Linked DNA regions of Homo sapiens: regions 2, 3 and 4 are each linked to region 1. Evidence: promoter capture Hi-C in 16 types of primary human blood cells and fetal thymus (Javierre and others, 2016). All regions are on one chromosome and are shown on one strand. Each heading gives the region's core, a stretch centred on a gene start or on the middle of the fragment in contact. The rest is flanking DNA. Distances are from core to core; before and after follow the strand shown.

Region 1 (7,454 bases), core at 586-3,085:
AGAGAACAAGGCAGCCCTCACTTCCAGAAGTTGAGTTAACTGTCAGAACTAAAAGAATCCCTTCTATTCATGTGACTCCCCATAAAGAACGTTTGCCGGCTCCAAAAATACCTTATAAATCCATCCAGTAGAGCCAAGCCCCAAGTACTGTATACTGAGAAACAATGTGACTTTACAAGGACAAGAGTGACCATAGGAGACAAAGTGCCACACCCTTTTCCCGGATAGCTCAACGGTACATGTTGTCTCTTATAAAGACTGCAATTCTGGAGAAATAGGTGGGCAATTCTAACACCCCCTCCCCCAATTCCTTCTTTACACAGATTCATTTTCATTTTTAAGCCAGTGGCCTCGGCATCCGCAACTACTACAACTAATAATCAGGGGGGTGGTGGGTAAGGGATGGGGAGGACAAGGAAACACAGGTCAAATATACTTGCTTCTAAAAGTCCATTTTCAAAGAGTTTTCTTCCCGCTTGTCTGCCTCTCACAGCTGTATCCCCATACCAGGTGGAAACCAATGGTTAAGTAAAATCACTGATTTAAAGAGCCAACCAGGAAACTAACCATGACAAGTGGGAGCTGCCCTCCTCTCCCGAGCATTGATTGGTTCTTTGGGTTCCACCGGTCCCCATTCTACCCACGTAAGTGGCAGGTGTGGCTGTCAATCACAGAGGGAACCGACAATTCACCGCTCGGGGAGTAAATTGCCTTTCATACAGCAAAGGCAGGTAGCCGCCTAAAATCGATCCACTCCTAAAAGAGCGGACCCTCCCTCTCTGGCAAGGAGAACAGAGACCCTTAAGTACAAAATAAATAAGGCAGGGCCGAACGGAGAGTTTACGAGCGCTATTTTATTACCCCGAACCAAAGCAGCTCTTAATCTTCACTGTCCTAAGACGATCTTTCAAAGGCTCGTACGGTATTTTTTTTAATTAGGTACACCTTCGTAAGTATCCCTTTTTTTGTATAATTAGGAGATGGGGAGGAGGAGAGAAGGGATGCCGTTCAGTTCAATTTCACATCGTATTCCTTTTCATACACCATCCCCTAGCCCTCCCCGATAAATCGGCTTCATTTTCCCTGACACGGGTTTTTTAAAAAAAAATATGCTCCCCTCTGAACCCACCCAGGCGGCCAGCCACCCCACCCCCGGGCGGGGGCTCCACCTTTCTCCACTTTGTTCTGCTTAGGATTGCTCAAGACCCCCGACCCCGCGAACACCCCACCCCTCGAGGCAAGAGGGGACGCCAGGCAGAAGAGGGGGATCTGAGAGAAGAAAGGCGATGGCAGTGAGGGTGGCTGCCGGAGAGGGACTGCGGGAGGTGGCCCGGGCAGCCGGGGCTAGCGAGCGGCGCCCGCGCGCTGGAGGAAACCGTGCACTTGTTCCAATCCGGGGGTTTATACATCAGGGCAAAGCCTCCCTTAGGCCGCCCCATCCCTCCCCCCGCCCAAGAAAGCCCCGTAGGAGGCGGATGGTTCACCCTTAGGCTCCCCACGATAACGCATTGCAGCTCCCCACGAGCGAGGGGGACCCGGCACGAGGAATGCCCGGGCACGGGCGCCCCGAGGGAGCCGGGCACCAGGCGGCCCCGGCCCCGGCGTCGGCGTCTCACCTTTCCGATGCTCGCCCCGGGGCCGTCCCACATGGATTTTTACAACCTCTCGTCGCCTTGGCCCCGGGCGGCCAGGAGGAGCAGGAGCCGGCGCCGGAGCCGGAGACCGAGCGAGCAGGAGCGGGAGGCGGAGGAAGAGGAGGAGAAGCGGGGCGGGGAACAGGGAGGGAGGAAAGAAGGGAAGGAGGAGGACACTGCTCGGAGGGCCAGGGCCAGGCGCGGGGCCGGGCGGGGCCGGCGGCCGAGGGGGCGGCACCCGCCGCAGTCCCGAGACGCGCGCTCGCGCGGCGCTGCCAGGCGCTGCGCTCGGCGGGGCCCCCACCCGGCCGGCCGGCACGCTCGCCCGCTCGCAGAGGCCCTGACTCACATTCCCAGCATTCCCGAGGAGCCGCTAGGGGGGACGGGGCTGGGGCCCGGGCGCCTCCGCTGGGGGCAGCAGAAAGCGCCCGGCATGGGCGGGGGTCTTCGCAGCGCCTCCTCCCGGCAGGCCGCGGCGCGAAGCACCTGTCCCCAATCTTCCATCCCCGACGCCCCTTCCCGGGTACCCCCCTCCAAAAGCTGCCAGGCACACTGGGAACTTGTCAGGTGGCTTTGGTGACAGGGGCAGGGATGGCACTTATCTTTTAAGTTAAGCATTGGAGTAAGGGGTCGTGGTTACCATACCCTGGCACCGTCCATCAGCTTTAATGTTCCTTAGGAGGTTGAAAGAATTTCATAAGATCTTCACTTTATTGTTCCCCCAAAGAAAGGACAGAATGAAAGATAAAGACAGGAACAAGAGAAAAGATCGCATCCGTCATATTCACTGGGTGCCTCTTCTGTGCCCTGAAATGTGCTTGCATTGTCCCAATTTAAGGTAGAAAGATGATGTCTGAGTTGATACGCGCGCACACAGGCAGATACACACACACACCTCAAGGTAATGAGCAAGAGGATTTGGACAAGTTTTTCATTGGAAAAAGCTTCCACTCAACAAGTCTGGAGCCCCAGCTGCTGCCATTTTATATTAGGGAGGGTACTGGGATAGCCATGGGCATCTTTAAACTTGGTCTCTTTCACTGAGTAGTCAATTTGCAGGGATAGAGCAGTCATTTCCTTCCTGTCCTGATGAGTCTGCTTCCAGCAATTTCAGTGGCCAGATCTAAATTTCTCCTGCTGGGAAGCTCAGACAAATAAAGCAAATCCAGCCATGGGATGTTTGGGTGCGCAGAGGCATAGAATTAGTACAGCGATTAGAGGATGGATCCTTCTTTCCTCCCCGATAGGAATTCAATTTTTTTTTTTTTTTTTTTGGAGACAGAGTCTTGCTCTTTCTCCCAGGCTGGAGTGCAGTGGTGCCATCTCAGCTCACTGCAACCTCTGCCTCCTGGGTTCAAGCAATTCCCTGCTTCAGCCACCTGAGCAGCTGGGATTACAGGAGTCCATCACCACGCCCAGCTAATTTTTGTATTTTTAGTACAGACGGGATTTCACCATCTTGGCCAGGCTGGTCTTGAACTCCTGACCTCAAATGATCCGCTGACCTCAAGCTTCTCAAAGTGCTGGCGTTACAGGCGTGAGCCACCGCGCCCCGCCGGAATTCAAATATTAAATGATTCCTGCTCAGGGAATCAGACTCTGAGAGACAAGGATGCCTTCCTGTTCCAGCCCAAATGCCTGTTCCTTAAGCCTGTACACCTCTGGTAGCTAAGGTTTTTCATAGACTCTCTTTGCCCTCATCCTCTTCTTTCTCTCTCTGAGAAATCAACACTCATTCTCCTGACCTAGATGCTCCAGGGGCAAAACCAAGCTCCACCTATTGTGTTTTGTTCCCCACATACATCCTTGACAGCCTCTGCTCAAAAGGCTTGTTGTATATGAGAGCCTTGTTGAGAGTCCTTTGAGAATTCCTAAAATCCCACATCTTTTGAAACGTGGCCAACATTTTTTAGTACCCCCCTCTGTGCAGGCACTTACATTTTCTCAACTATTCTCACAAATATTCTATAAGATGTTTACCAACTTTCAGAAAAGTTGGGTAACATACCAGGGTGATCCCATGAAGAATTTATTTAAATCAATGCCTGAGGTTCACTCTGGTTGGCCACCCATTCTCTTTTCCTTTGATCCGTGGGTTTTAAAAGGAACCCTTGACATTCAGGGGATCAATTTATTATGTACATGCTTATGTACATTTTTCCCACAGAGAGAAGATTCATGGTTCTCAACAGATTTCTTTCAAATTGGGTCCTTGACCCAGAAAAGTTAAGAATAATTACTTTAAATAGAAAGTGACTCTACATAGTAAAACGAAGAGTGGAAGTTATAGGAATCTTAAGCAAGTCATCTTTATCCTCTCTGGGACTTAGTTTTCTGAAAATAAAAAGCGGAACTAAAGAATCTTAAGATTGCTCTCAACTCTAACATTTTCTAACTTTAGGTTAAAATACACATATATGTGTGTATAGGTACACAAATACATACACAAACACACACACACACAAACAAACACACCCTCGCAATATGCTAACAAGTAGCCATTGTGAGATCTAACCCTTCAGGACAGAAAATTCTAAAACATATTATATTTTCTAAAACATGGTCTGTTGCTCCAGGGTTTTTTGTTGTCGTGGTGGTTTGGTTTGGTTTGTATTGTTTTGACAGTTATTGATGTCTTTCTTCATCTTCACAAGCTCTTTTCAAGCAAGTCAGAGAGAGCATACTTTCATGGCAGATATTTTTTTCTCACATATTCATTCATTCATTCAACAAATACTTATTGAGCATCTACTTTCTCCTAGGTCCTGTGGGTTCAGAGCCCCTGCCTCAAGGACTGTACAGTTTAGTGATGGAGACAGACAAGAAGCAGGCAATAACAATACTGCCTATGAAGGGACAAAGTTCTGGGAACTGCAGGAACATGCAGGAAGGATAACCAACTGTTCCCCTGGGGTTCAGAAAAAGTTTTCCTGAGGAAATGTCAAATTTGCTGCCACATCCAACTTTGCTGCCCTATGGTGTGCTCAGCCTGGAGTGGCAGCTATCATAGATGGGAGCTGTGGTGGACACCTGCCCCTGGATGAGCCATGACAGGCTCTCCTTCCAGTATTTCAAACTGAGCTTGAAGAATGAGTCAGTCAGCTGGCATTGAATGGTGAGATTGTAGACTGTGGTGGCCCAAATTAGAACAATGGCACCAAAAACCATGATGCCAAAGTCATCAGGAAGTAAGTTCTAAGATCCTTGCCAAGGAAGTTGGTCTGTAAAGAGGAGAACAGCCAGCCATGTAGACAGAAATGAGATTTCTAAAGACCTAAAGGCCTTGGATATCTACCTGCTTATTTGACTTCCCCAGTGTGAGTATTTAACCCACCAGTATCTCAAACTTGATTTTTATGCACCAAGTCTCCTCTCTCCCAAGGTCACCCATCAGGATAATGACATCACCAATCATCCTGTTGCTCAGGTCCAAACCTAGGAGTATCATTAATTCTTCCTTTTGCTTATACCACACGTTTACACCATCAGCCAGTTCTATCAGCTTTACTTGGGGCTGAGCCAAGCCATATCAAACCCTGAAGCAAAAGAAAAACTCTGTACCCGTACATATTTTTTGAACCAAATAGAAAAAGTTAAGCTCTACAGTGAAAAAGCATGACTATATATAAAAGCACCGTAATGCCCAATCAGTTTTCCTATGATTGTCAACCCTCACAAGCCTGCCAGTGTGGGAATATGAGAGCCAAGTGGCCTTGGAACTGAGCACAGGTTGGAAACAACTGTTCTTCTTGCACAATGATGCAGGGTCATAAAACAACAACCTGTGTTGGTTTTGTTTTTGTTTCTTTGGGTTTTTTGCATTCATTTTGAATATAGTAACAGCAACAAAGAACAAATACCAATTAGACAAAATCAGTACTATGTGCGAGGCCCTGTTCTAAGCTCTTTGTGTGCATTAACTGACTTATTCCTCGCAATTGACCTAAAATATACCATTATTACACCTATTTTACCAACAAAGGCACTGAGGCACCTCTAGGTAAGGTAATTTACCAGGGCCACACAGCTAAGTCATCGCAGGGCTGAAATTCTAACCCAAGAAGTCTGACTCCAGAACAAACGAGGTAAAATAAACTGGACTTGGTGAGCAATTGGCTATGTGCAAGAGAGAGGAGTCAAAAATGTTCCCAGGAGTCTGGTTTGGGCAGCTAGGTGGATAGTGTGCCATTCACTAAAACTGGAAATAAAGGTTGGGGAGGAGTACAGGTTTATGGAAAGTTTATAGATCATATGGGAAACCCAATTATGAACAGTTTATGGGTTCAATTTAAGGCTTTTCGTATTTGAGATGCCAAGGACCTCATGGTAGAGATGTCCAGAACATGGCAGTTTCAATGTGCTTTGAAGTCAGACAGCAGATACTTGATGAAGACAGTATATGAGAGTCACCAAGTTTGGTGATTAGAGTCCTGGGCATAGCCGAGTAACCCAGAACAGTCATTAGCATGTCCACAGGAAGAATCTAGTTGAATAAGAAACAAAATCCCTAAACAACTTATAATTGTCTGTTCTTCTTAGGCATGAGGTCATTTGCGCAAGTCTTAACAGGGTAGATTTTAGCTCAAAAGAAACATGATTGAGCTGCCACTTTAAAACAAAACAAAACACCTAATTAACTGACCCATCACCACAACAGTTGGACTGGAAAAAAGTCACCTGATCCTTTGGAAGCCAACAATTGGTGCCGTTAAACCATTCAAATTATATTTGCCAGAAATGTTTTAAGACCTTTGTAGGTTTTAAGCATCATAGCAAAGATATCAAAATCCAGCACCATCAAAAGTATATATTTTTTTGGCTGTGCATGGTAGCTCACATCTGTAATCCAGCACTTTGGGAGGCCAAGGCAGGAGGATCACTTGAGCCCAGGAGGTCAAGGCTGCAGTAAGCTGTGATCACACCACTGCACTCCAGCACAGGTGACAGAATAAGACTCTGTCAAAAATATATATATATTTATACACACACACACATGCACACACACACATTTGTTTTTCTGTGAAAATGCTTGAAAGTTTTTTAAATTATTTGAGCAAGAACCATTCATTTTACTTACTTGTGGCTGTGGTTGTCCAAAATCATTAAGCATACTCAGAGACTATTATAAGGTGAGAAGAAAATCTAACATACAGTTGTTTGCAAATGAAAGGAAATGTTTATAAATATGAAAACCCATAAAGTTATATTTTGTAGACATTTATTAAACATTTAATTCTCAATTTATAATTTTCTGTAAATCTGTCATCTCAAGGCAGGCAAGTCTTTCAGGGCTTTGCAAAAATGTTGATTAAATGTTCATATAATGTAAAATAACATCAATTTCTTTAGTTCCTTGGCTTCCAATAACCTCATTTCCTGACTTTAATCACTCATGAAGTCTGACCCCCCCCTTGCTATCCTTGGGTTCCATGACAGGCCTCTATGTTTTTTCAGTAGATACCTTCTTTTTTGTTTGTTTGTTTTTGCCTCCTTAAGTATCTTTAGTGAGTTTCTCTTCCTTGCAACCACAAGTACTGTCGGAATTGAAAGTCAGCTTCCTTCCACCTAGGCAAGCCCCCCACTCTGGGCTCTGTGTGTTTCTCTGTGGTATTTTCCATGAACTGCTGCCCATTGCTTGGGCCTCCTCTTCCTTCCTCATTCCCTGGCTTGGCTATTTAAAGGTAGTTCATTAGCACCTTTTAAATTATGATAAAAGCTGTAAAATTAGGAGAATTTTTAACATACCCATTTTAAAATAACTCCAAGGTAGAAAAGACCTGTTTGAAGCTCTCGAGGAGAGAAATAACCACAGACACAGGC
Region 2 (6,884 bases), core at 2,763-5,262, 610 kb after region 1:
AAAACTCCCCAAGTGATCTACAGAGTCAATGTAACCCCTGTCAAAATCTCAGGTCTCTTTTTGCAGAAACTAACAAGCTGATCCTAAAATTCATAGGGAGATCCAGAACAGCCAAAATAATCTAGAAAAAGAAGGTCAGGCTGGGCACAGTGGCTAACACCTATAATCCCAGCACTTTGGCAGGCCAAGGTGGGAGGACTACTTGAGCCCAGGAGTTTGAGACCAGCCTGGGTAACACAGCCAGACCCAGTCTCTACCAAAAATAAATAAATAAAAATTAAAAATTAGCTGGGTATGGTTGCACACATCTGTAGTCCCAGCTACTTGGGAGGCTGAGGTGGGAGGATTGCTTGAGCCCAGGAGGTCGAGGCTACAGTGAGCAGTGATCATGCCACTGCACTTCAGCCTGGGTGACAGAGCAAGACTCTGTCACAAAAAAAAAAAAAAAAGAAAGAAAGAAAGAAAAAAGAAAAAGAAGGACAAAGTTGGAGGATTCATACTTCCTGATTTCAAAACTTACTACAAAGCTATAGTAGTCAAGACAGTATAGACAGCAATACTGGCATAAGGATAGACATATAGATGAATGGACTAGAATTGAGAATGCAGAAATAAATGCTTACATTTATAGTAAATTGATTTTTGACAAGAGTGTCAAAACAATTTAATGGGGAAGAAGAGTCTTTTCAACACATGGTTCTGGGACAACAGGATTTCCATATGCAAAAAATGAAGCTAGACCCCTACCTCACACCACATACAAACATCAAATCAAAACAGATCAAAGTTCTAAATCTAAGAGCTAAAACTATAAAACTCTTATAAGAATATATAGGCATATGGCTGGGCGTGGTGGCTCATGCCTGTAATCCCAGCACTTTGGGAGGCTAAGGTGGGCAGATCATGAGGTCAGGAGTTCCAGACCAGCCTGGCCAACATGGTGAAACCCCGTCTCTACTAAAAATACAAAAATCAGCTGGGTGTGATGATGCACACCTGTAGTCCCAGCTACTTGAGAGGCTGAGGCAGGAGAATCATTTGAAACCGGAAGGTGGAGGTTGTAGTGAGCCGAGATCATGCCACTATACTCCAGCCTGGGTGAAAGAGCAAAACTCCATCTCAAAAAAAAAAAAAAAAATATGCCTTAGGCATAAGTTTTCATGACCTTGCATCAGGCAAAGGTTTCTTACGTATGACACCAAAAGCACAGGAAACCCAAGAAAAATAGATAAATTGAACTTCACCAAAATTAAAACCTGGCACTTCAAAGAACACCATCAAGAAAGTGAAAAAATAACCCACAGAATGGGCAAAAAATACTTTAAAATCATAGCTGATAAGGAACTGAACTCAGAATATATAAAGAACACTTACAACTCAATAATAAAGAGACATATAATCCAATTTAAAAATAGATAAAAGACCAAATATACATTTCTCCAAAGAAGATACACAAATGGCCAATAAGCACATGAAAGAAGGCACAACATCATTAGCCATCTGGGAAATGCAAATCAAAGTCACAATGAGATGCCACTTCATACCCACTTAGGATGGCAATAATCACAAGATGGATAATAACAAGAGTTGATGAAGATGTGGAGAAACTGGAACCCTCGTGCACTGCTGGTGGGATTTTAAAACAGTGCAGCCACTTTGGAAACAGTTTGGCAGTTCCTCAAAATGTTAAGAGTTACCATATACCTAGCAATTCCACTGCTAGATATATATTCAAGAGAAATAAAACCATATGTCCACAGAAGTTTGTATATTCTTCCCTGAGGAATGGAAGAGCCAGGGCAGGTAAAAGAGAGGAGAAATGTATACGGTCAAAGAAAACACTCTTGGACATAACTAAATGGGAAAACATTAGTTGTTAGCACTGTCCAGGCCAAATAAAGAATTAAAAAAAAAAAAATAGGCCAGGTGCGGTGGCTCATGTCCGTAATCCCAGCACTTCAGGAGGCCGAGGTGGGAGGATTGCTTGAGCTCAGGGGTTCAAGACCAGCCTGGGCAACATGGCAAAACCCTGTCTCTACTAAAAATACAAAAAATTAGCCAGGCGTGGTGGCACATGCCTGTAGTCCCAGCTACTAGGGAGGCTGAGGCATGAGAATCACGTGAACCCGGGGGGCAGAGGTTGCAGTGAGCTGAGATACCACCCTGGGCAACAGAACGAGACTCTGTCAAAAAAAAAAAAAAAAAGAATAAAAATAAATAAAAACAAGCCAGGCGTGGTGGCTCACTCCTGTAATCCCAGCACTTTGGGAGGCCAAGGCGGGTGGATCACGAGGTCAGGAGTTCAAGACCAGCCTGGCCAAGATGGTGAAACCCCATCTCTACTAAAAAATACAAAAATTAGCAAGGCGCAGTGGCAGGCGCCTGTAATCCCAGCTACTCGGGAGGCTGAAGCAGGAGAATCACTTGAACCTGGGTGGCAGAGGTTGCAGTGAGCCAAGGTCATGCCAGTGCACTCCAGCCTGGGTGACAGAGTGAGACTCTGTCTCAAAATAAATAAATAAAAGAAAAAACATTAGTTGGTAAGCAATACATACAAAATGAGCCCATTATGTTGGTTTTCAAAGATACTCACAGGTACCCATGCCTGTGTGAGTAAACAAAAGCAAGAGAAATCTATGCCCAGTTGATCACAAACATTCTCTCTGGAAGCAAGCTTGGGATGGGGAAGGTGGAATTTTATTTTTTACTTTTTTTTTTAATATCTCAGCATATTATACCTGTAATTACTTTTAACTCTACAACTTCTGATATGTTTACGTTTATGTTCAATAAGAATATAATCAGGATTTCTTATTTATGTTTCTAGCCAAAAGGGAAGGAAAGAGAGAGAAAGCCACTGGAGTTGGGCAGCGTGGGAAGCTGTGAAAGTGGACAAGCGTGAAAGAGCTTCCAAGTAGTGGAAACAGCAGAAGCAAAGATGTGAACATGGGAAAACCTCTGCAGTATCTGGGTGACTGTGGGGTTTGGCTCTGTTTGAGCACCCCGGGATGATTGGTGGTGGGGTGTGGCTGAAGGTGAATTGGAACAGTGCACTCAGAGCCAGGTTGCAAGAGTGCTGCATGCTCCTCAGGGATTGGCTCCGGCCAAGTGCCCCAGCCTCCTTTTCTGGAGAATTCTGTTTTTGACTTGGGCCCCATGTCCAGTTCTGCTCTGACTTGTGGGTCCACCTTAGAAAAGTCAGGAGACACCTGGGAAATGAAGGCACTAGACTCTTCCAGACTCGTTCCATGGCCACCCAGAGGCCTTGGGTCATCCACCCAACATCCCAACAAACCCCACTGTGCACTGGCATCATGCCAGGGTCCAGGTGTCCTGCCAGGAGCAGCCTCTGCCCTCCCAGAGCTGACATTTCAGGGGGATGTGTGCCAAAGTGAGACCTGTCAGAGATATTTACAAGCAGCCATCTCTCTTGACATCGCTGTATCCCAAATAAATCTTCTGGGAAGACCCTCTTCACCTCCAGCTCTCCTGATACAGCAAGGCAGTTGTGAGCAAGTTATTCATAACTCTACACCTCAATTTCTTGGTATGGAAGATGGGGATAATGAGAGGACCACAGGATGGTTGTGGAGACTGTGTGAGGATATAGATGCCGAGCCCAGTAGCACAGGGTGCAGCCGTTCAAACCAACTGACATTTACTGAGGGCTGCTTTGTCAGGTCCCTCTCTACAGTATACTCCAACACACACATACACACACATCTGTAATCAATAATAATCCTGCAACATCTGAGAGTCTGGCAGCTGTTTGTCTGGGCCTTTGCACATGCTATGCCCTCCCTTCCATCCCCCACCCCCACCAGGGGTGACTCGTAGCCATCCCTTTCTGCATCTTCTTAGATATCACTTTTTCCAAGAAGCCTCCCTGTCACACTTCCCCAATATCACAGATGAAGAAATCAAGATTCAGAAAGGTTAAGTTACTGGCACAAGGTCACACAATCCAGATCTCATACTCTTAGCCCCCGGGGAACCTTCACTGTATTAAATGACATCAATTGATCAATCAATCGATCAATCAATGAAAGAGTGGGAGGCATGCATCTCCTGATCCCCGATCCTATACATTTTCATCTCTTTATTGTTTCTATCAAAGCCTGCTAAGTAATTACTTTCCCTCTGGGTAAGTGCCACTAGGTGATGAGGTGAGGTAATCAAATGACATAGAAGAGGAAGGAGTCCACTGCCAGGGTAGGTGCAGTGGAGCAAGTCTTACAATGTGCAGGATTATAACTCCAGCAATGACCCCTAGGCTCATGCTCATTCCCCAGGTGGCAGTTTCAGAACACATTGCTCAGGTCTCACCCTGTAAATGTAGGTACCAGCCTTCTAGTTGACCATCAGAACACACAACGCCAAGATCTTACTCCAGCCACCTGCCAGGACCTGGAGGGCAGGAGGAGAGTTCTGCCTACATTGTCTCATTTTCCCTCCCCTTCTGCAGTGAGATAGACCATGTCCAGTGCTCAGGAGTTGACTGGCCACACTGGGGAGTTTGACCACAACATTGGGCTCCATATGCATGGAATGAGGTTGCATGCAATTGTCCATGAGGCTGCTCCCTCATTTGTCTGGGTTTCTGCTCCAATGCTATCTCCTCAGAAAGACCTTCTCTGACTGAAGCCAGCTCTGCCTCCATCCCATCACTCTGGATCTCCTTCCCCAGCTTCATCTCCATTACACTGGCCACTCTCCCTCACATCTTATTACTGATCTAGTTGTCTACTGTCCATCTCCACCACTGGGATGTAAACTCCACAAGGGAGGAATGCTGTCAGTTTCTTTGACTGCTGTGTGGTCAGTACCAGGGCAATGCCTCGCACAGAGTAGCCCTCTCTCCCTAAATGTTTTTGAATAAATGAAATAAATGAGCTAAGTGGCTAAGACATGTGTAAATACAACCTCAATTAGGAACAGTCTTGCCAGTCCTCTTTTTTTTTCTTCTTTTTTTAAGAAAAAAAAAAAAATGGGCCCGGCATGGTGGCTCATGCCTGTAATCCCAGCACTTTGGGAGGCCAAGGCAGATGATCACTTGAGCTCAGGTATTCAAGACCAGCCTGGGCAACATGGTGAAACCCCATCTCTACAAAAAATACATAAATTAGCTAGGCATGGTGGTGCATGCCCATAGTCCCAGTTACTCAGGAGGCTGAGGTGGGAGGATTGCTTGAGCCTGAGAGGCAGATGTTGCAGTGAGCCAAGATCACGCCACTGCATGCCAGCCTGGGCAAGAAAGCAAGACCCTATCTCTAAAAAAGAAAAAAGAAAAAGAAATGTGTACCCATTTTCATAACTGAATAAACAATTTTCATCAAAGTAAAGAAGAAAGCAAAGCTTGTCACCAAACCTCTCCACAGCAGACCTCACTCCACCCATCATGCTGATACTATCCCATGAAGAAACTGACTCAATAGATTAGAATTATATATTAAAAAACTTATTTTCAGTTGACTTTCAACCTGTGCAAGCGAAGTGATATGAATTAAAGAATATTTGTACAAACCATTAAGAAAATGGGTCCAAGGATTAATTTTCTTTTAAATATAGCTAGGGTTGCTTTAATAAATTGATTAAGGAATGATACAGAAAAATCCAGGAAAAGAACAAAAGAGAGACAGCCCCTACCCACCCCCACCTCCAACCCAATGAGTTACAGGAGCCTGAACAATACATAACTTGGCCTTGAAGGGTTACTAAACTATGGCAATGGCCTTTCTGCTTCATGCTTCTTTGCCTCAGACCCCCTCTGGTGAGACATGACTGGGCAGCATACTAAGTTCTGGTCAGGGGCTCAGGGACCTTAGTTATGGCAGAGAACTTTAGAGATGGATATTGATGAATGCAGGATAGTCAGAACACGAAGCAGACCATAAGGACTAGAATGATAGCATGCAGGAGGCCACATCTCGTCCTCAACAGTGTGGTACAGGGACTACATCTGGTTCTCTGCCCCCTCTCCTCCAATGGTTCTCTGTCCCCTCTCCTCCAGTGGAACAGGCTATTGCAGGAGATGACAAGTTCCCTGTGCCTAGAGGATTCAAGCTTAGGTTAAACAGTAACTAGGAAGAGGTGTTGCAGAGGTGATTTAATCTGGAGGTGAAAGTATGCTACATTAATGGTCACTTTCAACCCTGAGCTCCTGACAAGCAACCAGTTCCTTTGCATTTCACTACTCTCTAGACTCACCTCACTTCAGTCAATGGGTGTTCATTCACTCAGGACAGTTATTGTGCACCCGCTGTATGCCATGGAGCAGGAGTCAGTAGTCAACAGGACAACACACCTCTGTCCTCTTGAATCCTACATTCTCCTTGGTGGATGCACACAATAAACCTATAAATCAATGTATGAATAAGATCATCCCGGGCAAGCTCTATGAATAAAATACAAGAAAGAGTGTGATAGAAACTAATGGGGGAGGGGCTGCTTTGGACAGAGTGGTCAGAAAAACCATCTGTACAGGGGAGACATCTGAGCAAAATGGCAAGAAAGTGCCTGGCATGGAAGAAGTGATGCTAGGTTGAGGGAACAGCGTGTGCAAAGGCCCTGAGAAGTCTTCTGAAAACTTGAACTCAAATGTTCATGAATTGCATCCCAGCCTAAAGGTCTCACCACAGGCCAACAGTCCCTAACCTCACAGCCTGCCTCTCTTTCCCCTAATTGACCAAGTCAAGGCTGACCTGTATTGCCCACTGAAAAGTGTGTTCTGGGAGGGGGCACAAAGGGCAGCCCCCAGTTTGTAGGGAATTGAGATGTAACGGGGCAAGAACCTCCACTTTCCTACCAGAAGTTCAGAGTCCACTTTTCTGGGGCACAGGCCTCATGGAAAATACAATGTAAGGGGAAACCTCTGGAAAAATAAC
Region 3 (7,205 bases), core at 3,258-5,757, 550 kb after region 1:
GGGTAGGTAGGACTGCAGGCGGACACCACCACGCCCTGCTAATTTTTTTTTTTTTTTTTTTTTAGTACAAACGAAGTCTAGTTATGTTGCCCAGGCTGGTCTCAAACGCCTGGGCTCAAGTGATCCTCTTGCCTCTGCCTCTTAAAGTGCTGGGATTATAGGCGTGAGCCACTGCACCTGGCCTTAAAATTCTTTTTCTTGAAAAGGTCCCCCAAATTATATAAGTTTCAGACCCTCAAAATGGATCTACCTGTATCTAAAGCCCTAGACACTTCGCCACCCTTGTTACATTTTCAAGACCACAGCATGTTCAGTGGTGAGACAAGTCTTGTTCCCACCAATTCCCAAGCAGCACTGGCAATGATGAACTCTTGGATCTCCAATCCCCAGATGGCCGAATCTTGCAGACAGAGACCACAGAGGCAGGGGTCCACCTGGGTGCGTCCTCATATCCAGCAGGAAGTTCACAGAGCAGACCATGCCCCTACAGGACCCTAGTGGCACTCACACCCACACAAGGAAAAGAACATGCACAACTATCACACAACTATCTTTCTGCCATTTGTGACCTCTACTGAAATCCACCTTCCAATCCAATTTATGTATTTCGTGATACAGAGCCTCAGACATCACAGCACATCCAAGTGGTAAGACGCAGGCAGGTGGACTGAAACTGCTTTCTAAAAGGTAATGCTGCTTGCAAGAATGACAAAAACGGCCAGGCGCAGTAATCCCAGCACTTTGGGAGGCCTCGGTGGGAGGATCATGAGGTCAGGGGTTCAATATCAGCCTGGTCAAGATAGTGAAACCCTGTCTCTACTAAAAATACAAAAAAAAAAAATTAGCTGGGCGTGATGGTGGGCGCCTATAATCTCAGCTACTCGGGAGGCTGAGGCAGAGAATTGCTTAAACCCGGGAGGCGGAGGATCCAGAGAGCTGAGATCGCACCACCGCACTCCAGCCTGGGCAACAGAGCGAAACTCCGTCTCAAAAAGAAAAAAGAATGACAAAAAGGAGATCAAATCACATAATGTCCATGCAAATGTTTTATTATTTTAAAGACTTCTCGAATGTGTGGAGAGTTTTTCAAAATAGCTACCGTTAGGATGGAAAATTTACATCAGCTGGTGCTAAGCACAGTTGTCAATCCAAATGCCCACCCACACCTCTGAGTTGGTGCACAGTGTCCTTCACTCTCTTGCTCTTGGTCCCCCCCAGGTCTATTCTTATATCCCCTTTTCCCTGGTGTGGGGGAGGGGTCTTCTTTGTGGAGTGCAGCTGGCGGTTATGATAAGCAGGTGTCAGGACTTTGAAAATGACCTTGCCCATCAGCTGGTGGGAACCAAGAAGACAAGGAAGTCACTGTGTCACTGTCTGCCGGGTCTCAGTCCCCGAAACAAGACACAGTGAGGCCTGGTGGGGGAGAGAGAGGAAAGCTTTCTCTCTGTCTCTCTCTCTCTCTCTCTCTCTCTCTCACACACACACACACACACACACACACACACACGAGTCACCAAACAAAAGGAAATGCACACAATGTCACCACTAAAGAGCAAAATAAAAACTCAAAGGTGAGGATTAAGTGTTTCCTAAACAGCAGAGGTAAACCAAGGAGACTGAGGCTTAGACAAATCCAGGGAAAGTCTGCATTCTATGCGTGGAGTTGGCAAATTCCATCAGGAGAGAGTCAGCAGAGGTTGGGGGAAGGGTAGGGATGTATATTCACCCAAGGCTGATTCCAGCGCCCAGAAAGCCAGGGCCATGTAAATGGCTGTTACTGTACCAGTCCCTGGAAAGGTTCCAATACCCAGGACATGCTCTGGGAAGAAAGAGAATGTCCACTAACCCAGTTTCTAATTAAATGTGGGTTAACTGGCACTGCTCCCTGCAGCTCAAGGGGCCAATTGAGAGCTAAAAGGAGCGTTTTTCAAAATAAAAAGGCCGAGCCCACCAAGCCAGCACTTTTTGTTTTCTCACATCCTTTCAGTTGCTCAACTTGACCCTCTGCTAGTTGGGTTGACTCCTTGGTCCTTGAAGAAACAAACCCTTCCCTGCCCCCACCAGCTCCACGTCTGCAAGGACAGAGATGCCCCCTTGGCACACGTTGGATTGAACTCTGTTCCTCCTTTCCCACGATGTCGTCACGGCTGCCCAAGGATGAGTCACTGTGAAAGCCACACATTGTCCCCAGTGGACAAAAGGCTGGACCCAGGAGAGTGGCCCATTCACGCTTCTCCAAGAGCTAACCAGCCTCTTTCTACAACATCCAAAGGATGCTGCCTGATGCTGGGAAATGGTTAGTCTTCTCTCCCAGCTCCCAGTGCTAACATGAATAGGAAGAGAAACGAGCTTGGAAAAAAACTTTCAGTGAAGTGCAAAGAGCACATGCAGTAGTTACGCTGTGAAAACCAAGGCAAAACTTCATTCAAGATGCTTAAAAGCCAGGTGCAGTGGCTCACGCTGTAATCCCAACACTTTGGGAGCCCAAGGCAGGTGGATCAGTTGAGGTCAGGAGTTTGAGACCAGCCTGGCCAACATGGTGAAACCCCATTTCTACTAAAAATAGAAAAATTAGCTGGGCGTGGTGGCATATGCCTGTAGTCCCAGCTACTCAGCAGGCTGAGGCAGGAGAATCACTTGAACCTGGGAGGCTGAGGCTGCAGTGAGCTGAGATGGCACCCCTGCACACCAGCCTGGGTGACAGAGCAAGGCTCTGTCACAAAAAAAAAAAAAAAAAAAACTTTAAAGGCCAAAAAGGAATATAGATCAATTTGTTAGTAATAATAATGTCACATTTTCTGCACATCAACTAAGGCACTGGGCTAAGGAAGGGTGTTGTTTGCATTATCTCATTTCATCCTCAGAACTACTCTATAAGGTAGGTCCTATAATTAGCCTCATTTTACATGCAAGGAAAGCAGAGCAAAGAGAGCTTAAGTAACTTCCAAAAGGTCACACATCTGGCCAGTGGTACAGTCAGGATTTGAACCAGAGCAGTCTGGCTCCAGAGCTGTGTTCTTAAATATACCATGCTATCATTAATTAATAAACTAATTTATAATGATTAAAGTTATGCTAAAGTGTTCACATTTGGGGGAGGTTGTGATGCTTTACGTTTATGTCGTGTCTCACCTTCCCCACACCAAAAAAGTCACAACCTGGCTTTTCCCATTTAAAGACAGTATCTGCCAGGTAGTGTGCTGAGCATGTGACATGTATCATCTCATTAATCCCCACAACCAATAATATGAGGTTGGTGCTAATATTATTCCTTTTACAGATGAAGACATCGAGCTTCAGGGAAGTTAACATCCTTGCCCAAGGTCATAAAACAAAGAAGGAATTTGAAGCCAAGAATGTCAGATTCCAGCATCTGTATTCTTTCCATTATATATGCCATCTCTCGCAGAATTTCAAGATTTTCCAGAAAAAAAAAAATTAACAGTATCATGAAATGAGGGATGAGAATGACCGAGTCCAATGTTAAGCCACCTGGATTCATTGGGTAGCAAGGACCACAGTGGGTAGCTGGCCCATAAACCAGGACCATCCTCCTGGCCTCCAGCCTACATCACTGGATGGGTGAACTGTGACAAATCACTTATCTCTCTAGACCTTGGTTTCTTTATTTATAAAAGAGGAACAAGAGAGCAAGGGGGACTTCCTGAGTCTCAGGTAGACCAGGGCACTCCCAGAGGGCTCTGTAGGTGGCCATTTCTCCTCCATGGATGGACGCTTCCCACCTCCCTTCCCGGCACAATTCTTCAGGATCAGGTTTCTTATTTTTTCCCTGGACCCAAGTGTGTGCACCCAGGTAGGCAATGGCAAGAAAGTCACAGTCTTTCTCAGCCTCGGTGTGTTCCTAGGGAGGAGATGAGGAGGGGAGGGAAAGAAAGGGGGCTCGAAAGGAGCTGGAATGGGGGCAGAGTGCTTGAACAAGTGCTACACCTGATCCCAGGAGGTGTAAACATATGCAGAAAAGCTTGTCCCTTAAGTTGGCATGTGTGTCAGATATATTTACACCTCAATCAAATTAAAATAAAAAATACTATTTGAAGAGATGCCACATCAGATCAGGCAAGATTTTGTCAAATTAAAACTTTGCTACTATAAAGGCTCTATATTAAGTATGTAACATCCCATCCAAGACACCTTTTTAAAGGCATCTACCTTCTAAGTTCATTATGAAAAGGGAACAATAAGGAATTGACAAGAAGGATTATTATATGTGGCTGAGAGGCTGGGGGTAAGGGTGAGCTTGGGGAAATCTTTTCTTTAATAATCAACCCTCAAGGTGCACGGATGATGCCTTAACTCTCTATTTCCATCTATTTTCATGATTGATTGATTTATGAACGAGACAGAGTTTCACTCTTGTTGCCCAGGCTGGAGTACAATGGTGCAATCTCGGCTCACTGCAAACTCCACCTCCCAGGTTCAAGTGATTCTCCTGCCTCAGCCTCCCAAGTAGCTGGGACTACAGGCGAGCGCCACCTCGCCCAGCTAATTTTGTATTTTTAGTAGAAACGGAGTTTCACCATGTTAGTCAGGCTGGTCTCAAACTCCTGACCTCAAGTGATCTACCTGCCTTGGCCTTCCCAAGGGCTGGGATTTCAGGTTTTCATGCCTAATTTAGTGGAGCAAATAAAGCCTGAAACTTCAGGTAGGGACTTAAAATCCTGATGCTGTCACTGATTTGCAGGGTCCTGGGGCTGAGTCAGGAATCATGGCTCCCTGCCACCTCCCCTCTCACTTGTGAAAAAGGACAGTGAAGACCACAAAGGGGATCGCTGGCCCAGATGGCATGAACATCTGGGGTGTCTGCCACCCAGCATCCAATTCCCTGTGTGTGGGTGACAGCACCTGGCCTTCCCATTGGGGGACCACCCCTCCCTCACTCTCCATCCATGGGTTCAGATGAGGCTGACTCCATCCTCCACCCCCGAGTTCCAGAGTTCCAGGAGAGAGCACGAAGCCCACGTTGTGAACAAATCTGAGTTCACTCGGGAAGCTCTGCTGGAACAAGTGGGAATAAGCTTTCACTCCATAGCTGGAGTCAAATGCCAGCCTGGAGTTGGTGGTATCACAGGGAGGAAACGTTCCTGAGAATGATTTCAACACAGAAGAAAGCAGAGCCAAGAGAAGGGCAGAGTGACAGCAAGGCCTAATCGACACTGAGCCCCTGGATCCCACCATGCCTGAGGCTATCTACTGTCGGACCTTCCATTCCTGTGGGCCATTACATTCCCTATGGAGCTTGATCCTGAATGAACTGCATTTCTGTCACTTGCAATAACATTTCCTAGCAGAACCACTGCATAGAATCCTAAGTCTCTTAGTTATAAGGGATACTGGTGGCTGTACACCCAGCAGCATTTTGCAGATAATAAGCATTCAATAAATGTAAGTTGGTCTAATGGATGAATGGTTTGTTCATTTCCTCTAGCTTCAATGCCTCAAACAGAAGGAAAGCTATCCTGTCAGTATTACTCTAAGCCACAGGATAAACCAAGTACATCTTCATGGAGTACTAATTTAAATGACAGAAAGTAGCTCCATGCTTGAAAAGCACAGCTGTAACCAAACATAGACACCTGTGGTTCACCCCAGGAATGAAAGGATGGGTCAACATTAGGAAATCTATCAATATAATTCATCTCATTACAGAGTCAAAAGAAAAAACAAAAACAGATGTCTCCTTAGATGCCAATCTTGTTGAATTCCAACATATATTCCTGATTGAAAAAAGAAACTTTTAACAAAACAAGAATGGAATGAAACTTCCTTAAGAGATATAAAGCTCAAACTGAAAGCCTGCATCACATCTCCTAGGGAAACATTAGCGCACTCCCACTGAAGTGGGTACAAAGCAAGAGGAACTCTACATACCACCGCTAGTTAACATTATTCAGGAAGCGGCCAGGCGCGGTGGCTCACACCTGTAATCCCAGCACTTTGGGAGGCCGAGGCAGGCAGATCATGAGGTCAGATTGAGACCATCTTGGCCAACATGGTGAAACCCCATCTCTACTAAAATACAAAAAATTAGCCAGGCATGGTGGTGCGTGCCTGTAACCCCAGCTACTTGGGAGGCTGAGGCAGGGGAATCACTTGAGCCCGGGAGGCAGAGGTTGCAGTGAGCTGAGATCATGCCACTGCACTCCAGCCTGGCGACAGAGGAAGACGCCATCTCAAAAAAAAAAAAAAAATTTATTCAGGAAGCATTTACCAATCCAATTAGAAGACAAAAAAAGTCATACTGACTAGAAAGGAAGGGAAAACAAAATTGTATTAATTTGCAGATGATACAATTATATGTCTGGAAAAATCCCTCCCTACAAAAATATAGTAATAATAAAATAAGATCTGCAAAACTATTAGAGCAAACAGGAAAACTAGATAATATTAATCAACATGAATAAAAGAAGTTGGCTGGACATGGTGGCTCAAGCCTGCAATCCCAGCGCTTTGAGAGGCTGAGACAGGAGGACTGCTTGAGTCCAGGAGTTCAAGATCAGCCTGGGTAACCCAATGAGACCTTGTTTCTACAAAAAAATTTTAAAAATTTAGCCGGGCACGGTGGCATGTGTCTGTAGTCCTAGCTACTCTAGAGGCTGAGTCAGGGGGATTGCTTGAGCTCAGGAGTTTGAGGCTGCAGTGAGCTATGATCACCTCACTGCACTCCAGCCTGGGTAACAGACACTGCCCTGTCCAGTCACCTGGGGAAGCCCAGGAGGTCCCTGTCTTTGCCAACAAAGGAAGAGAGGACCCATCTTTCAAGACATGACTCGCAATAGCAGGGCTGATCAGACTGATCCACACGTGTGACCATCTCATCACCCACATCTGTACTGATCTGAATGTCATTTTTGTCTCAAAAAAAAAAGTTATTAATCAATAGCTTTCCTATATACAAAAAAAAAGAAGCATGAATACATGCTGGTGATCCAGCTAACATAAATGATTATTCCAGAAAAACATTCCTTCTTGTGCTCTGCCACATTTCCTCTTCTCTACTTGTGTGAATGTTGGTGGCATGCTTGAAACTCACAGCTGTACCCAAACATAGACACTACCAACCAGGCACTTATTTTGCCTAGGCTCAACCATCTCTGTTGACTGGGAACCAATCTCCCGAGACTGCCCTGTCCAGTCACCTGGGGAAGCCTAGGAGGACCCTGTTTTTTGCCAACAAAGGAAGAGAG
Region 4 (7,523 bases), core at 3,059-5,558, 630 kb after region 1:
AAAAGACTAGTAACCTTCACATTGGCATTGCCCATTTCTCTTCAATAAAGACAGAAATAATATTTTCTCTCTTCTTCAGGGAGCCAAATTAGTGTTGAAGTTGGGGGGCCAGAGAGTTTTCTTTCTTTTGGGAGAAGGGTGTGTCATTTTTCCTCAAGGAATAAAATTGGTCCTCTTGCCCCTTATTTCTTTTAAAAGAAAAGATGCTCAACTCTGAAAAAAAGGCTCTGAAAATCATGTAACCCCACATTTTTTGAAGGACAGTCTTCCTGCTTATTTGCACTCAAGATACTATTATTTGCTCAAGATACTATTATCTGGCTGGGTCACCATCTGAATACCTGGGCCTGGACTGGAATGACTTCTGACTCTTTCTGGAGATCAATTGCCTCAAAGGCCCAAGACAGCCCTCTGGAGGAGCTTTGGCACCTTGTATGGCTGGGCTGAGTCTGTTGAGGTGGTCTCTGTTGAGGTGGTCTCTGTTGCTTGTAGCCAATCTCTGAGAAGGCACACCTTTACCTGAGCTTTAACCTCCTTGATCACTCTCCTGGCAAAGCTGATGACATCAGATGCTAAGTCCTTTCTGTAGCTCATTGGTAAGTTAAGATGAACAACTAGCACTCTACCTTCAGCTACCCGCAGGCTTCTTGGTTTTCCTGGAAACCTGGACTTATCCCTGGTCTCTTTTCTAGAGGACGTTGTCTAACCTATCTACACAAGCCTTTTACTCTCAGGATCAAGGCCTCTCATGGAGATCATCCTGTTTTCCATTTCTTGTTTCCATAATATCTAAAAGCCTGTGACTTGGCAGAACGTTTTTCTGAATTTCATCTTATATCCACCGTCTGGGACAATTTCTGAGTCAAAAAATGCAGCTTTGCTTAAAACAGATGTTTTGCCGTAATCTGCAGGGCAACGATTCCCATTTCTAGCATACTGGGGAGAGTAGAAAAAGTGAAACTAATTAAACAAAACTAGGAAGTTGGACTTCTCAATTTATTCTGAGGCAATCACACTATGGTTTCATTACTCGGTATATTAAGAGTTTGATTTTATTGATCAGAAACATTAGTATTTCAACATAAGTATCAAAACCCTAAATCCAAACTAAAACATCCCGATTTTTTAACTAGCACTCTCTTTTTCTCTTCCATTTTCTTAAGGAGTGAGTTCACATAGCAAGCTCTCTGCCCACACACCCTTGGAGCTCAGTTAATGCTTCTCCTCCCAGTCCTCCATTCTCTCCCTGGGGCCACTTTCTCAGAGATGCCTTATTTCATGAACAAAGCTGAATACCCTAAAAGCGACTCCTAATGGTTCCTCTGGGACAGGAAACATCTCTTGGCCTCAATAAGAAATCTCTCATCATGTTCCAAGTGAATTTTCGTATGTTAGCAAGTTTGGACTAACCAATCTCCTTCACAGAATGCCTAGGATGAAATGGCGGGGCAGTCATGTGTGGGTAGGAGCTCTGCACTCATTCCAGATTCCATAGGAACAACATAAAATGACTCTTCTCTGAGTTGCCTGTTGTTATGGGGAGGCAGTCTTGCAGCTCACTGTCTCTCCCTCAGAGCAGCTGCAAGAAACTTGATGCCAGAGAACAGACGAGCACGTTCTTTTCCCAAAAAGCTGCCAGCTGCCTTTACAGAGCAGTGAGTATGACATTTGCATCAGAAATATACACAAACCTTTTCTTTCCAGCAGGGGTGCAAGCCCCCCTTTCCCCACCTGCCATGCATGTGCTTGGAAGGGAAAGTCCTGCCCCATCCCACCTCCCACCTTGCCTCAGGATGTTTCTCAACATACCCCTTCATGTTGGTCTTATCTGACGAAGAAGTGAAAACCACATTCCCTGGGCTGAATGCTGAGAAAACGGGTGCCAAAATCTAACAGCACCCATGAGAAAGGTAGTGAGAGATGTACACACCTGCTCTAAGGCACAGGGAGAAGGGTTTCCACAGGGGAGACCAAGACAGCATTCATTACACACATGCTAATCATCAGATGGGATGTGAACAATTGTTTTTTCTTTAGAAATAGAAACTCTGTAGAAAGTCATTCATAAAAATGGAACATTTACTTTTGTGACTATCACCTCCATTCTACCATCTTAAAAAGAGGTTTGTCATTAGTCAAAACCAGTTCAGCAGATTAACTGGCCATCACCTCCACACACTGCTGTATTTCAGTGAATTGTGATCCCTAATATTCAGGACACAGCTTTAGACCAGAAGGCCAACCAAAGCACGAACTGCAACTTCCAATAATACAGACCAGCTGGGTAGCAGTCTCTTAAGAATAAACTTCCAGACACCAACATCTGAGATACAGCACAGTAAATGTAACCCATGGAAACAGCAGGCAGATCTGGCCCCCACATGATGCCTACTCAGACCAAGAGGAGGCTGTGTGTGCTGAGGTCCTGGGGCCTTCTGCACGATGACCAACCTATCTCAAGTGGAACGGTCAAGACGGTCAGCCTGGCCCCGTGAGCTTCACCTCAATCAGTCATGCCACCCAGTAACACAGAGACTCATTTCATAAAAGGTGACTGTATATTCAGTCACTTTCTTGACTTTTGACTCAAAGCTTATTTAACACCCATGGCAATGTAAATTCTACATCAAAAATAAATGAGAACATTATCTGCAATACAACATGGATTCCAGATAGACTGGCACTTGATTTCTGTGGCTATGATGTTAAAAGTGCCTTTTTTCACAAAGCATTTCAAATCAAGGTAGCCAATAGCAAACAGGCAAAGTTTGCAGAGCTCAATGAAGTCTGAATGATTAGTGCAGGTATCTTCCTGTTTTTCTTTACATATTTCCTCCCTACCTCCCACAACAGGCTCTGATCCAAGGACTAACCAAATTTGGCAAGCTGTTGTCAGACCTTATGGACATGCCTTTCAGAGCTCCATATCATTTTAGAAAATTGGAGAGTTTGTCAAGATATCCGGTAAAGGGTTGGGGCAAGGGAGAACAAGTACTGGCCAGCATTTCACTCCAAATATCCTTGTATGAGACCTCAGCTCCAAGTGGGCCATGCAACCAGGGAGATGAGCTGGGGAATCAGAGGGAGGCAGCAGCTAAAGTGGCAATGCTTAGACTCTTTCGTTTTGTTACAAAGGGGCGACCGCGTGGAGTTCATCAGTGTAGCTGCGGCAACCAAGATCTGCTTTGCATGACCCAGAAGAGAGGAGCTTGGAAGGAAGGGCAGGAGGTTCCTCCTCACCTAAGGAGAGAAGAGAGTACAGAGTCACACTGTCATTGCATTTCACTGGGCTGGGCAGGTGCTCATGGCAGAATGTGACTGGATCTGGGTTTGGACTATGGGCTCTGTATAAACGAGGCAAGAATCCCAACCAACTCAAGATGGGGCACTCTCATCCTCCTAACAGGTTCTAGTTCCCTTAGTTGAGGAAGGAAGAGATATTTCTTAAAAGTCAAGCGTTTAGGCCGGGCGCAGTGGCTCACGCCTGTAATCCCAGCACTTTGGGAGGCCGAGGTTGAGGGATCACTTGAGGTCAGGAGTTTGAGACCAGCCTGGCCAACATGGTGAAACCCAATCTCTACTAAAGATACAAAAATTTAGCTGGGCATGGTGGCGCATGCTTGTAATCCCAGCTATTCGGGAGGCTGGGCAGAAGAATCGCTTGAACCCAGGAGGCAGAGGTTGCAGTGAGCTGAGATCATGCCATTGCAGCCTGGGCGACAGGGTGAGACTCCATCTCAAAAAAAAAAAAAAAAAGTCAAGGGTTTGTATGCATGACTCCAACTAGTTACAGACATGGTAAGGGACAGCCTGAGATGGCATCTACCTGATGCTCCCTGCAGAAGTAGGCCTTCCTAGAGAGCCCTCATACCTGGGACCCTATGCTGAAGGATAGAAAGAATACTGTACCCATGAATCCCAGACTCAATGAATGTAGCTTTAAAGACAATGGGGGCGGGGGGTGTGAACATTACAGGTCTAAAAAAGACGCATCCACAAACTGTTACCCAAGACCCTTGGGGCCCAATGTGTTTTCGTGTCTGATGTTTTTGGAGTTTAGAAAAGTGATACAGTGCATAGTCTGTATGTGGCACAACACCCCTTGCAGGGTCTGGGCAGCTCACTATAATTTAGCATTAGTATTTCTGCAACTCAAACATGTGAGTACTCCCATCACCTGGTATAAATCAAGACTACCAAACGAGCTGTGTTCTCATCAGGTTTCATTGCCCAATAAGTTGGCACCAAAAGTGGAAAAACGCTTTGACTGATTTCAGAAGCATGGTCAAAGGCTGCGGCCTGTTAGGACCCGGCCCCAAAGGCACCTTACCCAGGCCTGAAGAGGAGGACACGCTCTCCGTCAGGGAAGACGTTTCTGTCTGGTCCGTCGAGAGTCCTTCCATCAGTGGCAGAGACAGCTCGGATGAGGGCACAGACGAGTCATAGATGCCTGAGTCCCGCGGCATGTCCGAGGGGCTGCCGGCTTTCACCGTGTGCAGCAGGGGTTGCAGGGCGGCGCTACCGTCAAGGGCAGGCCGGGCCTCCCCGTCTTGGTCCAGGCCCCCATGCTGACTCTCGTGCTGGGAGTCGGCTGGTCCGGTTGCCCCAAGAACAGCCGCCTCTACCTTTAGGCAGAAGTCACTCTCAGGCCCTGGTTTGCACATGACATCATTTAAAACCAAGCCCGAATCAAATTTCTCCAAGACTGGCTCCCGGTAGCGCAGTGGAGGAGGATGGAAGGGAACGAACTGCTTTTCGAACCAGTCGGGCTCCTCGTCAATAAACTGGTGCATGTTGCAAATGGCGACGTATAGGGACCGGCCTGACTTGCTCCGGAAGTAGTTCCTTCTGCTGCCCTGTCGCGTGTGCTGCCCCGGCTCCTGGAGGCCGTGGTCTCGGGAGTGCAAGTGGGAACAGAGCTGAGGAAGATTGTCCATGAGTCTGTACTTGGTACTCAGGTCTAGGATACCGGGGACGTCTCCCTCGCAGGAATAATCAAAGTAGACGGCGATAAACTTGCTGAGCGCCGCGGACGAACTCTGCTTGGCCTGGCGGAGCTTTTCGGCAATGGCTGACACCGCCACCAGGAAGAGCTCTCCTTTCCCCGAGCCTCGGCCACCTCCTTTGTGTTTGTAGTTCTTCTTGTCCACAAAGTACTTCATACCTTTGGAACAAACCACAATGATGAACTGGGACTCGTGGATCTTCTGGATGACCCATTCTCTCTGCCCTTCTCTACAGAGGCTGAAGTCTTCCCACAGGTCCAGAGCCACCTGGAAAGAGAACAAGGCACCTCACCCATACAGAAGGCTCGGGAAGAGGCTCGGGAAGTGAGTAACAGGAAGGGAAATGTCAGAAGGAGGCCATCTCATCTGCCCCTTAACCCTTATTAGCACAGCTATGTGCAGGCTCCAGGTTACACCATACCAAGGAACAGCTAAAGTTCCGTGGGTGATGGTCACACCCTAGTCCCTCTGCAAAAACTTGCCATCCATCCATTTTTGTATCACATGGAGTCATTACCACTCCTGCCCTACAAGTGAGGGGACAGAAGCGCAGTGCTTTTGGCACCTTGCCCAAGTCACACCCTACATAGGATATCCTCAAGGAAGCAACAGGTGGTAGAGAGCACAGGACAGAGAAACTGAGGTTGGTTGATCTGGTGAGTGAGGTGCCTAGATTGGAGGGGCAGATTCTGGAGAGAAGGCTGGCAGGCTCTGAGAGGAGGATGTGGATGAGTGACTCCAAAGTGAGCTGGGAGATGGGGCTCAGGCCTGGATGCCAGTCACCCACAATTATAGGTGACTCACATCCAGACAGTGACTGACAAAGGGGACCTATCTCGACACTCTCATAGCCTCAGGCTCACCTATGTTGTTTACTAGTTGGTCCATGGCTGGAGAGGAGGCTAGTGAACTGCATTAACATGGTCATTCTGAGTAACTCACTCAGGACTGGCTAGCACCTTCCTCTATGGCTTCACACAGGTATACAAGGCTACATCTCTACAAGGCTGGTAATTGACAAAGCTTTACCCCCAAAGGCGGTCTGGTAGAGAGACTGTGGGCGTGGCTGACAAAGGAGAGAAAAATCAGACATGTGTGGCCCCTTAGAGGACTTCACCTTCTCAGACCACTTTTACCTAATTCTACCAGAAACATCTCTTGGTTATTGTGTTGATGTCTTTCCTTCTGTAGTTATTAATTCCCAATGGCTATGACGAAACACAGCAGCCACACTATCTTACAGGGAAGGGCATTCTGAAACGACTTTGTTCTCCTCTTCTGCTCTAAGATGTTACCAATGGGGAAAAAGCCCCAACATCCATCCACTTGCTGAAAATAACCCTGAATTGTCTTATACTTTCCTTAATTCTTGTTAACATTACACATGCTAAAAGCTCAGTGGGAGTATATACCAAGCATTTTTTAAATGTTTCTATCTTTGACCCAGCAATTCCATTTCCAGGCATCTTTCTTGGGAAATCATCACAAATGGGACAATATTGAACCACTGAGATGTTTAATATTTGTATTAACTCAGTTATGGCAAATCAATATGGAGGATCATGTAGCTATTTAAAATTGCAGTTGACATATAACTACTAATAGTGTAAAAAATTATTAAGAGACTGCAAAAAATCATTTCAATCAGCCCCAAAGGCAAAACTGTACGTGTGAGTTCACCTATATGGAAAAAGACTGGAAGGAAATAAACCACACATGAAATATGAGTTCCTCTTTCTAAGATTTTCCTTAATCAGTTTGGGATTCCAGACAATGTTTTATTTATCATCCTTTTCTAGTTCCAAATTTTCTACAATAACTATTACACTAATAACTGGAAGAGCGTTTTCCCCAGAGGCTAAATACTTGTGAAGTAGAGCAAACTTGGTTGCCCGTGGTATCTGAAAACTGTGTGCCATTGGCTAGAGTGTAGTTATTTTTCAGCACGTGCTGATCCACCAACCTCACGCTTTCATGCAGAGGGAAACTAGGCTAGCGTAGTATGTTATGTTGACACTAGGGGGCAGCCTCACCACATGGAGAGATTCTGAAAAACATGCCAATGGGCAGTTTCAAAGCAAAAACAACTTCCAATCACACAGTTATTGTACAGTTCTTGCATTTTCAAGAAACAGGGTATGTCTTGCATGAGAGTTTCAGACTTCACTCTAAAAATGTACATTCTGACATTATAGAAAAGCATATTAATAAGATATTAATAACTCAAGAGAACAGCTAAGAAACCAGAGCAGATCATTTCAGTGCTTGACAAAATATTGTTTTCTGGGAGTGCTCCCTTCCTACCTCCCTGTTCTCTCTGGCCAGTGCCGTCTCCTGCATCATGAGTTTCTCCCTGTCTATGATTCCACCAGTCAATGGTCAAACAGCTTCACAGAGCCCTTCGTTTATCACTTCTCCCTGGACCTCAAGATCCCCTCTAATGGCAGCCCCGTCCTTCATTCCCCTTCTCAGCAGAACTCCTCCAAACAATTGTGCGAACTCACTGCTTTACTTGCC

Evidence for each region. The method cuts DNA at HindIII sites, captures the fragments that hold promoters and counts their contacts. A CHiCAGO score of 5 or more calls a contact.
Region 2: a contact is called between a fragment that was not itself captured here and the fragment with the promoter of ERC2 in region 1, in 1 of 17 cell types (total CD4 T cells). The highest score is 7.6, in total CD4 T cells.
Region 3: a contact is called between a fragment that was not itself captured here and the fragment with the promoter of ERC2 in region 1, in 1 of 17 cell types (non-activated CD4 T cells). The highest score is 6.0, in non-activated CD4 T cells.
Region 4: a contact is called between a fragment that was not itself captured here and the fragment with the promoter of ERC2 in region 1, in 1 of 17 cell types (total CD4 T cells). The highest score is 6.2, in total CD4 T cells.

The regions. Positions count from the first base shown.
Region 1 is chr3:56,466,632-56,474,085 of GRCh38, forward strand. It overlaps ERC2 (ELKS/RAB6-interacting/CAST family member 2), which reads right to left and starts at 1,836. Exons shown (of 18, transcript NM_015576.3): 1 at 1,617-1,836. RefSeq lists an enhancer at 490-784. The HindIII fragment of the contact is 8,117 bases long and covers 1-2,576 here.
Region 2 is chr3:57,070,539-57,077,422 of GRCh38, forward strand. It overlaps SPATA12 (spermatogenesis associated 12), which reads left to right. Exons shown (of 2, transcript NM_181727.2): 2 at 2,828-4,894. The coding sequence starts at 3,157. The coding sequence ends at 3,729. It also overlaps a transcript of ARHGEF3 not described here. Among named protein-coding and RNA genes, the nearest start is that of SPATA12, 13 kb to the left of the region's middle. The HindIII fragment of the contact is 2,681 bases long and covers 2,673-5,353 here.
Region 3 is chr3:57,015,559-57,022,763 of GRCh38, forward strand. It overlaps a transcript of ARHGEF3 not described here. Among named protein-coding and RNA genes, the nearest start is that of SPATA12, 42 kb to the right of the region's middle. RefSeq lists an enhancer at 1-254. The HindIII fragment of the contact is 1,054 bases long and covers 3,981-5,034 here.
Region 4 is chr3:57,093,266-57,100,788 of GRCh38, forward strand. IL17RD (interleukin 17 receptor D) reads right to left here. Exons shown (of 13, transcript NM_017563.5): 12 at 4,331-5,273; 13 at 1-3,240. The coding sequence ends at 3,128. Among named protein-coding and RNA genes, the nearest start is that of SPATA12, 36 kb to the left of the region's middle. RefSeq lists an enhancer at 3,951-5,150. The HindIII fragment of the contact is 3,437 bases long and covers 2,591-6,027 here.